Regions from separate parts of the Homo sapiens genome. Here all the other regions are linked to region 3. Evidence: promoter capture Hi-C in 16 types of primary human blood cells and fetal thymus (Javierre and others, 2016). All regions are on one chromosome and are shown on one strand. Each heading gives the region's core, a stretch centred on a gene start or on the middle of the fragment in contact. The rest is flanking DNA. Distances are from core to core; before and after follow the strand shown. Region 1 overlaps SP100 (SP100 nuclear antigen). Region 2 overlaps SP100 (SP100 nuclear antigen). Region 3 holds the start of CAB39 (calcium binding protein 39).

Evidence for each region. The method cuts DNA at HindIII sites, captures the fragments that hold promoters and counts their contacts. A CHiCAGO score of 5 or more calls a contact.
Region 1: a fragment that was not itself captured here is called in contact with the fragment with the promoter of CAB39 in region 3 in 1 of 17 cell types (activated CD4 T cells); the score reaches 6.0 in activated CD4 T cells.
Region 2: a contact is called between a fragment that was not itself captured here and the fragment with the promoter of CAB39 in region 3, in 1 of 17 cell types (total CD8 T cells). The highest score is 5.0, in total CD8 T cells.

Annotation. Positions count from the first base shown.
Region 1 is chr2:230,432,691-230,436,287 of GRCh38, reverse strand. All of the region lies in intron 2 of SP100 (SP100 nuclear antigen), which reads right to left. Among named protein-coding and RNA genes, the nearest start is that of SP100, 18 kb to the right of the region's middle. The HindIII fragment of the contact is 4,820 bases long and covers 1-3,597 here.
Region 2 is chr2:230,452,855-230,456,814 of GRCh38, reverse strand. The region is part of intron 8 of SP100 (SP100 nuclear antigen); the gene reads right to left. All of the region lies in intron 3 of LOC101928816 (a long non-coding RNA gene), which reads left to right. Among named protein-coding and RNA genes, the nearest start is that of SP100, 39 kb to the right of the region's middle. The HindIII fragment of the contact is 2,265 bases long and covers 347-2,611 here.
Region 3 is chr2:230,711,117-230,714,694 of GRCh38, reverse strand. It overlaps CAB39 (calcium binding protein 39), which reads right to left and starts at 1,853. Exons shown (of 9, transcript NM_016289.4): 1 at 1,465-1,853. It overlaps LOC124907996 (formin-like protein 16), which reads left to right and starts at 1,369. Exons shown (of 4, transcript XM_047446832.1): 1 at 1,369-2,616. The coding sequence starts at 1,369. The coding sequence ends at 2,127. RefSeq lists a silencer at 1,142-2,081. The HindIII fragment of the contact is 1,861 bases long and covers 264-2,124 here.

The DNA of each region.
Region 1 (3,597 bases), core at 615-3,114, 280 kb after region 3:
ACTTATAGCTTTTATTTGGAACGACATACATTGAAAAAAATACTCAGACTCAATAGCAAATACAAATGTATGTATTTATAAACATCTGAAAGGTATGAGACTTGTATGAAGAAAACTATAAAAATCTTATTGAAGAAAATTAAATAAGATCTAAATAAACAGAGATTATGAAAGGCCTCCAATTACAAAAAAGGTAGTAGTTTTAAAACATCCATTATTCTGAAATTATTATGTAAGTATAGTGCACTTGCAACCTGGAACCCCATTGAAACTGGATAAAATATTCCTGCATTAGTTTGCTAAGGATAATGGCCTCCAGCTTCATCCATGTCCCTGCAAAGGACATGATCTCATTCCTTTTTTATGGCTGCATAGTATTTCATAGTGTATATGTACCACATTTTCTTTCTCTAGTCTATAATTGATGGCGATTTAGGTTGATTCCATGTTTTTGCTATTGTGAATAGTGCTGACTGCATGTTCTCACTTATAAGTGGGAGCTAAATGATGAGAACACATGGACACAGGAGGAACAATGCACACTTGGGTGTTTCAGAGGGTGGGGGCTGGGAGGAGGGAGAGGATCAGGAAGAAGAGCTAGTGAATGCTTGTCTTAACACCTGTGTGATGGAATGAATCACACAGCGAATCACCATGGCACACTTTTGCCTGTGTAACAAATCTGCATATCCTGCACATGTACCCCCGAACTTAAATAAAAGTTGGAAAAAAAGCTGAATCAAATAATGTAAATATTTAAATGACAGAACAAATATCTGAGTCAGACAAAAAACATTTGAGAAGAGAATAGTTAAAGGAAGATTTCTCTTAATAGGTTAAAATGTTTTTAAAAAGCAATACAGATATAAAAGAGTGTAGAAAAGCATTTTCAATATATATGACAAAGGGTTAATATATCTGATATTAATGGGCAAAGACTACAGTCTATTAATAAAAAGCAACAAATAACTCCTCCAAAATGGACCTGAACAGGCAGCTTAAATAAGAGAAAATGAAAATGTCTAATAAACATATGAATACATAAAAACTAAAATATCAATGAGAAACCATTTCTCACCCATTAGATTGGCAAACACAATTTCATTAGTGACACTATGTCACGAGGGAGAAGATTCAGAAAAACAGACACTTACTCATCCCTGGTGTAAGCATGAATTACTACAGCCTTTTCAGAAAAGATGTGGCAACATCTACTAAATTTTAAGATATACTACAGACTGACCATGCAGATCCACTTTTGGAATCTATCGTATAGAAATAAAAAGACAACATCCATCTTATAAAAACAAGAACTGCAGAACTTTCAATGCTCCCAATTTCTTCATGAGTGAAAGCCAGATCCTTACACTGTTCAAAGGGTCTGAAATGATACATCCTTTGCTCCTCTCCTTTTGCTCATGTCTGTCGGGCCACACTCGCCTCTGCTGTTTCTTGACTACACCAGAGATTCTCTAGCCTTAGGGACTTGATACTGGCTATTTTCTCTACTTAGCATAGACACATATATCTATGTAGTGAACTAACTCCCTTGTCTCTTTTAGATCCTTGCTTCACTATCACCTTCTCAATGAGGCCTGCTTTGACCAACCTATCTAAAAATCACAATCACAATCCCCTTAGCCTGCCCCCACACTCCCAAGCTCCTAATCTGCCTCTATTTTTTTTTCTCATGCCCTTACTACTCCCTAACATGCTAAATGAATTACTTATTTGTGTATTTATTGTTTATCATATTCTTTATTGTCTCTTTTCCCCCAAAAATATATATGCCATGAGGGCAGAGATTTTGTCTGTTTTGTCCACTGATTTTTCTTGAGTATCTGATATATACAAGGTGTTCCATAAATATTTGTTGATTAGATGCTCATAAATGCAAAATTTTTGTTGAAGCATTGTTTTTACCAGCAAAAACCCCTCAACAATAACACATACTCCTCAACCTGAAAACAACCTAATTGTGTATTCAGCTGACTGGTTAAGTACATTATTGTAAATATACACTGTTGAACTATTACATAGCTATTTAATTCTAGTAATTTGGATAGACAGTCATAGTTTTGTTGTTCAGTGAAAACATCATGTTTAGATCAATATATTATGATCTAATTTTTATATAAATTAAACTAAAAAAGTCTTTCATTTGTATATAAAATTCAGAATAAATGTTAGGGAAGGCATGGAACCACTACACCCCAGGTGTCAACACTGGCTTAGTGGACAGTTTCAGGGTTCTAACCAGGTCCCTTCAGATCTTTCTTTTACCATTTTTTAGGTAATATCAGAGAAAAGAAATAATACAGTAAACAGAACAAGATTTTGAGTAAGTATATTTAATAACCCCATAACTTATTTAATAATATTGAGACCTAATAAGTTATGGGGTTATTAAATATACTTACTCAAAAGTCTATGACTCAATATTAGGTCAATATTATTCAATAATATTGAATAAGTTATGAATAATATTCAACCAACTAGGAAACTTAGGAATTTAAAAGTCGAGTTTGCAAATTCAAAAATAAAGGTAGGCAAAATAATAAAACATTTAAAAATAAATTGAACAAACAGAATGCAAGACTTGTATGTTGAAAATGGCAAAACATTGATGAGAGAAATTAAAGATCAAAATAGTGATGCCAATGTTCATGGATTGAAAGACTCAATATGTTTAACATGGTAATTCTCTCCAAATTGATCTAGAGACTCAGTATGATTCCTATCAAAATCTCCAATGGCCTTTTGCAGAAATTGAGAAGCTGATCCTAAAATTTACATGGAATTGCAAAGAACCCAGAATATCCAAAACAGTCTTGAAAAAGAAGAAAAAAGTTGGAAGACTTATACTTTGTGATTTCAACACTTACTATAAAGCTGCATGAATCAAGACAGTACTGGCATAAATATATATAAAAATCAATACAACAGAACTGAGAGTGCAGAAATAAATCCTTAGGTTTTTGGTCAATTGATTTTCAACAAAAGTGCCAAGGCAATTAAATGAGGAAAAGATAGTCTTTTCAACAAATAGTACTAGTATAACTGGATAGGCACATGCAAAAATATGAAATTAGACCCTTACCTCACACCATATGCATAAATCAACTCAAAATGGATCATGCATCTCTAAATGTAAAAGCAGGGATGGCTTTATGGGCATGCATCCTGTGCAGTCACAAAAGACTCTGTGCTTAGTTTAGTGTTCTGCTTTCACTGTTTTGAAATCCTTAATAATTTTTGAACAAGGATCCCCCCATTTTCATTTTTCACTGCGTTTCCCAAATTATGCAGTAGTCTTGTAAAACAGCAAAAATGATAAGACTTTTGGAAGAAAACACAGGAAAAATCTTTGTGACTTTAGGTAAGACAAAGAATTAGCTACCACAAAAGTATAATCATAAGAGAATAAATGATGTTAAAATTTAACAAAATTTAAATCTTTTGTGCCTCAAATATACCATAAAGAGAAAGAAAAGATTAGTCACAGTCTGGGAGAAAATATTAGCCAATCATATTTTTAATAAACTACTTGTATTCAGATATGTAAAGAATTCTGACAACTCAATAAGAAGACAAGCC
Region 2 (3,960 bases), core at 230-2,729, 260 kb after region 3:
GGAGACAATAAATGACCAAAATGAGAAAGTTTAACAGAGATATTGAAATTATTTAAAAAATCAAACAAATTCTGGAGCTGAAAAATACAATGAATGAAATTTAAAAAGGCATCAGAGAGCATCAACAGCAGAATTGATCATGCAGAAGAAAGAATATGAACTCAAAGACAGGTTATTTGAAATACAATCAGAGAAGAAAAAGAAAAGAGAATGAAAAGTCATGAAGAAAGCTTACAGGATTTATGAAACACACCAAAAGAGCAAATATTTGAATCACAGGAATTCATAAAAGGGAAGAGAAAGACAAAAGTAGAAAGTTAATTTAAAGAGATAATAGTATAAAGCTTTGCCAATCTGGTGAAAGACATAAATTTCCAGGTACAAGAAGGTCAATGGTCTCCAATCAGATTCAGTGCAAACACGACTACACCAAAACATACTATAATCAAGCTGTCAAGATTCAAGGACAAAGAGAGAATCCTGAAAGCAACAAAAGAAAAGAAGCAACTAACATATGAGGGAGTTTTAATAAGGACAACAGTGGACTTTTTAGCACAAACCTTACAGATAAGGAGAGAATGAGATGAAACATTCAAAGTGCCAAAGGAAGAAAAAGAAACCTGACAACCAAGAATACTTTTCTTGGCAAAGCTGTCTTTCAGAAATAAAGGAGAGATAAAGACCGTCCCGGGAAAACAAAAGATGAATACATTCATTACCACCAGACCTGTCTTACAAGAAATGCTCAAGCTGAAAGAAGTAAATGCTAACTAATAATATAAAAATATAAGAAAGTATAAAACTAACTGGTAAAGTAAATATATAGTCAAAAAATAGTAGCTACAATAATTTTTTAGAGTATACACTATATAAAACTTGTAAACTCTGACATCAAACATTTTAAATGAGGGAGCAAAGTAAAAGTGCAGTTTTTGTAGGCAATCAAAATTAAGTTGTTATCAGCTTAAAATAGCCTGTTATAAGATGTTTTGTGTAAACTTCATGTTAACCACAAAGCAAAAACTTACAGTGATTACACAAAAGATAAAGAGGAATCAAAGTGTATCACTAGAGAAAATCACCTAATCACAAAGGAAGACAGTAAGAGAGAAAGAAAGGAATAAAGAATCTACAGACAACCAGAAAACAATAAACAAAATGGTTTTAGAAAGTACTTACCTATCAGTAATTATATTAAGTGTAAATAAATTAAATTCTCCAATCAAAAGACATAGAGTGGCTGAATGAATTTAAAAATCATGAACCAAGTATATGTGGCTTGCAAGACACTCACTTCACTTTTAAGGAAACACATAGACTGAAAGTGAAAAGATAGAAAAAGATATTTCATGCAAATGGAAATGAAAGAAAGAAAGCACAGGTGTACTTACGTCAGATGAGATACAGTTTGAATCAAATAATATAAAACAAGGCAAAAAAGGTCATGATAAAACCAGGCATGGTGGCTTACATCTGTAATCCCAACACTTTGGGAGGCTGAGGTGAAAGTATTGCTTGAGCCCAGAAGTTTGAGACCTGCCTGGGCAACATAAGGCAATCCTGTCTCTATAAATAACTAAAAAAAATTAGTCAGATGTGATGGTACATGCCTGTCATCTCAGCTACTTGGGGGGATTGCCTGAGCCCAGGAGGTTGAGGCTGCAGCGAGCCATGATTGCACTAGTGCACTCCAGTCTGGGTGACAGAGCAAGACCCTGTCTCCAAAACAAAAACTAAAACAAAAAACAAAAGAAACAAAAAGAAAGAAAGAAAATAAGAAGGTCATTATGTAATGATGAAGGAGTCAACTTATCAAGATGATATAACAATTGTAAACATATGCACCCAATATTTGAGCAACTAAATATATAAAACAAATATTAATAGATCTGAAGGAAAGAGAGACTAATACAATAATACTAGGGGACTTCAACACCCTACCTTCAGCAGTGGACAGATTGTCCAGGGAGAAAATCAATAAGAACACATCAAACTTAAACTATACTTTAGACCAAGAGGACCTAAAAGGCATATATAGAATATTTTATCTACAAGCAGAAAAGTACCATTCTTCTCAATTGTACATGAGACATTCTACAGGATACATCATATGTTAGGCTACAAAACAAGTTTTAACAAAGTAAAGAAGGCTGAAGTTATATCAGATATACTTTCTGACCACAATGATATGAAATTAGAAATCAATAACGAGGAATTTTGAAAAATTTGCAAATACATGGAAATTAAGTACACTCCCAAATAACCAATGGGTCAATGAAGAAATTAAAGGGAAAAAATTTTTTAAATCTTGAGACAAATGAAGATAGAAATGTAACATATCAAAACTTATGGGATATAGCAAAAGCAGTTACAAGAGGGGAAGTTTATAGCAATAAACACAAGAATACATAAAGAAAGAAGAAAGATCTCAAACAACCTAATGTTACACCTCAAGAAACCAGACAAAGAAGAAAAACTAAGGCAAAAATTAGCAGAAAGAAGGAAACAATAAATATCAGATCAGAAATAAATGAGTTCAAAACTAGAAAAAAATGAGATCAACAAAACAAAGCACTGGCTTTTTGAAAAAATAAACAAAATTGAGAAAGCTTTAGCTAGACTAAGAAAAAAGAGAAAACACTCAAATGAATAAAATCAGAAATGAAAGAGGAGACACTACCTTTCTCATACCACATATATACAAAGAATCATAAGACACTGCTATAAACAATTTAATGCCAACAAATTGGATAACCTAGAAGAAATGGATAAATTCCTAAACACACACAGCCTACCAAGACTGAATAACAAAGAAACAGGAAAATCTGAACAGACCAATAATGAGTAAGATTTAATCCATAATAAAATACCACCCACCAAACAAAAGTTCAGGACCAGATGGTTTCACTGTTGAATTCTACCAAATATTTAAGGAACAAATAGCAATCTTTTTCAAACTCTTCTTAAAAATTGAATAAGAGGGACTACTTCCAAACTCATTTTATGAAGCCAGCATTACCCTGATACCAAAGCTAGACATGAACACTACAAGAAAAGAAAATTATAGGCCACTATCCTTGATAAACGTATATGAAAAATCCTCAATAAAATACTATCAAATTCAGTAGCACATTAAACACCATGATCAAATAAGATTTATCACTGGGATGCAAGAATGGTTTAACATATACATATCTAAAGGGTCATACACCACATTAATAGAATGAAGGACAAAAACCATATGATCATCTCAATAGATGTAGGAAAAGCATTTGACAAAATTCAACATTTTTTCATGATAAAAACTCTCAGCAAAATAGATATAGAAGAAATGTATCTCAGGACAATAGTGGCCATACATGACAAGCCCACAGCTAGTACCATACTTAATGACAAAAAACTGAAAGATTTCCCTCTAAGGTTAGAAACAAGAGTAGGATGCTGATATGGTCTTGCTGTGTCCCCACCCAAACTCATCTTGAATTGTAGTTCCCATAACCCCCACATGTCATGGGAAGGACTTAGTGGGAGGTAATTGAGTCATGGGGGCAGTTACCTCAATGCTGTTCTCACAACAGTGAGTGAGTTCTCACAAGATCTGATGGTTTTATAAGGAACTTGTCCCCCCTTTGCACTGTACTTCTCCTTGCTGCTGCCATGTAAAGAAGGACGTGTTTGCTTCCCCTTTTCTGCCATGATCGTAAGTTTCCTGAGGCCTCTCCAGCCATGCTGAACTCTTGAGTCAATTAAACCCCTTTCCTTTATAAATTATCCAGTCTTTTATTAGCAGTGTGAGGATGGACCAATACAGATTGCCCATTCTCACTTCTATTCAACATGTTACTGCAAGTCCTAGCCAGAACAATTAGGCAGGCAAAAGAAATAAAAGGCATTCAAATTGGAAAGGAAGAAGTTTTAAATTGTCCTTATTTGCAGATGACCTGATCTTATATATACAAA
Region 3 (3,578 bases), core at 604-3,103:
AAAGGTCTACGTCTGGCTTTCTACAGCAGAATATTACTAACCATTTTTTAAAAATCATCAATTTATGTTATTTTACACAAATGCCACCTCAAAGAATGTAGGTTTAGCTTAGTAATTCCAAAGTACATACGCCTAATACAAAGTGCAAGAAGTTTTTATGCACTGTAGCGAACGCACAAATAGAAACACCTTCTGTGTGCAGATGAGCTTATTTTATAGACACCTTTCCATTACCTCTTAAGAGCCTGATATCTAATGAAGCTTTCTGCAAAGGTACTTTGCTTAGCCTGGGCATGGATTTACTTGATTATCTGGGAAGCTGTCAAAATCGATCTGAAACTGCATTACATTCAAGGCACAGAATGTCAACTCCTGACTGGGCCTCCTCCTCTCTCCTTTCACAAGAGCGCCTTTAATATCCCCTAGCCTACATTTCCGGGCTCATGAGTCACTGAGAAATGAGCTCTAAGTTTCTCTTAGAATGCTGCTCAAATAGCTCCTCTACAGCATTCAAGGATCTGGCCCCAAAATACCTCTTTAGCCCAATACCCCCCGCCCCCTGCACCATGCCAACAAACGGAATTATCCATGATTTCTAGGCTTTGTCTTCTCGCTTTTGCTACCCCTTCCACACACCTCTTCTGCAATCCTCCTCTCCTAAATCCCATCAGGCCTTCAAGACTCTGCTCAGCATCCCCCGCCCAGGAAGCCTTCCAGGTTTCTGCGAGGCAGAAGTGATCGGTTCGGTTTTTCCGGGTGCCGTTCTAGCACTCCGTCGTTCTTTCACAGGACTTATCACCTCCTTCCCGGTATCGCAGTTATTTGTGTTCTCGTCTTATCTCTCACACCAGAGCCTAAGCTCCTCGGGGGAGGGGACCGGGGCCCGCTTCACCTTTGAATCCCTCCGGTGCGGGCCGACTACGGCGCCTGCACGCAGTCTGCGCTTGGGGTGGTTCCATTGAACTCCAGAACGCTCCGACCGCCCAATTCCTAACCAGAAATCAGTTAGGCATTTTCCTGAATTGGTCACAAAGCTGGTATCTGCCTCCCGACAACAGGAAGTTTACCAGGGGCGGGAGCGAGGCGCTGAAGCCCGGGTGCAGCCGGTGACAGTTGACCCGGCCCGCACTTCCCCGCCCGCCCGACTCCGGCCCGGACCACCACGCGCCGCCAGCCCCGCCAGAGAACCACGGGGGGAGAGGCAGGAGCGCCTGGACTGCAGGCCCCCGGGCGCCCCACGCCGGCGAAGGCAAAGGGAGCGTCTCAGCGAGGGACCGGAGCCGAGCCGGGCGGAGAGGGCAGGCTGGGCCCGGCTGCTCCCGGGGGCTCCGGGGACAAGCTGGGCCGGGGCCGCCGCCACCCAGGAAAATGGAGGCAGCCCCGGGGCCGGTGAGGGCCCAGCGGGGCAGGCGGAAGCCGGGCAGGCGTCCGCACCACGAGCAGGGCCGGCCGGGGGTCACTCACGGGGCTGGGCCGGGCGTTCCCTTCTCTGCCTCCGCGTCGTCGCTGTCCCCGTCCTCGGCCGCCGCCGCTTCGGGCTGCTCGTTCGGTCCCCGCGGAGTGGCTCGGACGCTCGGCCCCTCCGTTGTCTTCCGCCCGCTCCTGCTCCCGGCGACGGGCTCCCGCGGCGGCGGCGGCTGCGCGGGCGGACGGCTGCCCAGGGGCTCCCGCGGCTGCCGCCGCGCTGCTGCGCTCGCTTGGGCTGCGGCTGCTGCTGTGGGGCCCGGCGCCGCCTTAGTCTTCGCCTGTGCCCCCGCCCCGGCGCCTGAAGGCTCTGTGTCTCCCAGGCCGCGCCGCTCCCCGAACCCCTCGCCCCGCTTGCGGCCCGAGCCCGGCTTTGACGTGCGCACTGCGCAGCCGCCGAGGACGCGACGTCGGGCGGTGCCGCAACGCCCCCTTCCGCCTCGGGCGCCCCCGAGCGGCCGGCGGACTCAGGGCGCCGCAAGTAGGCGCGAGGCCCGAGCGGGAGGGGCCGCAGAGAAAAGCAGAAGCCAAGCCCCGCAGTTCCTCTTCCTCCGCCGCAGCTTCCAAGGCGGGGCTCAGCCCTTTCTCCTCCGCCTGAGCGCTCTTACTGCGGGAATCGCACGCCCACTTTCAACGACCACTTCCTCAACTCTTCAAGCTTAATTCTGCGAGAGGCCGGGATCCCACTTTGTGCAGACCGATTCTTACTTTCTTGGAGCAGATCGCTTCATTTTAGCATCCAGGGGGACACAGCATCCAGGGGGACAAGTGCCAGAACGTTCCAGATTAATGGGAATATTCCTATTTAAATCAGCAACCTGGATTTAAGTCCTGCTCCACCATTTGCTATCTATGGGCTGTTTCACGTCCCTGTGCCTGGATTTCCTCACACATTAAAAAAAAAAGTGTGTAATAATATAGTGGTACCAGCCACGGGCTTCTGAGGATGAACGGGACAGTGCATTGCAAAGCTCTGACAACGGAGCCTGGCACATACAAATGCCATATGTGTGTATTTTTGTTTCTTTGTTTTTAATGTGTAACTGAACTACTTTTTAAGCGCCTCCTGTACGTCAGGGATGGGGCAGTGAGCGAAACAGTCCATGCTCCTAGCACAAACAGTTGACAAATAATTGACTAATAAACCTACAGGTATGTATAATACTGGACAATTGGGCCAGGCGCGGTGGCTCACGCCTGTAATCCCAGCACTTTGGGAGGCCGAGGTGGGCGGATCACGAGGTCAGGAGTTCAAGACCAGCCTGGCCAACACCGTGAAACCCCATCTCTACTAAAAATACAAAAAACAATTAGCCGGGCGTGGTGGCGGGCGTCTGTATTCCCAGGTACTTAGGAGGCTGAGGCAGGAGAATCGCTTGAACCCGGGAGGCGGAGGTTACAGTGAGCCGAGATCGCGCCACTGCACTCCAGCCTGGGCGACGCAGCGAGACTATCTCCAAAAAACAAAAACAAAACAAACAAAAAACAACAACAAAAAAACAAATACTGGACAGTTAAAAACACCACTGGGTGAGGAGGGGAGAGAAAGCAGGGTGTTGTTATTTACAGTGTTCATTCAGGGAGCAGCTTCCTGGAGAGAGAGAGCCTGGGAGCTTTCTGTATGGAAAGGCAGAGGGAATAGCAGGACCAAGGCCCTGAGGCGAGAATCTGCTGGCTTGAAAGCGGCCCCAGATAGGGGAAGAGATGAGGAAGAAGTGCGGCCCTACCAACCAAAGTTAGGACTTCCTGTTTTTACTCTCAAGGAGATGGGAAGCAATTTGAAGGGTTGCGAGCAGAGAAAGGACGTGGAATGACATTTCAGGAGGATCCCTGTGGCTGTGGTATGAGGACCAGACTGAAAGCCCTGAGGGTTTCAGCAGGGGGACCAGCGAGAAGCCTGTTGAAATCAGCCAGCCAAAAGATAAGACTGTCCGGCCGGGCGTGGTGGCTCGCACCTGTAACCCCAGCACTTTGGAAGGCCGAAGCAGGGGGATCACCTGAGGTCAGGAGTTCGAGACCAGTCTGACCAGTATGTTGAAACCCCGTCTCTACTACAAATACAAAAATAACCCCAGCTACTTGGGAGGCTGAGGCTGGAGAATTGCTTGAACCCG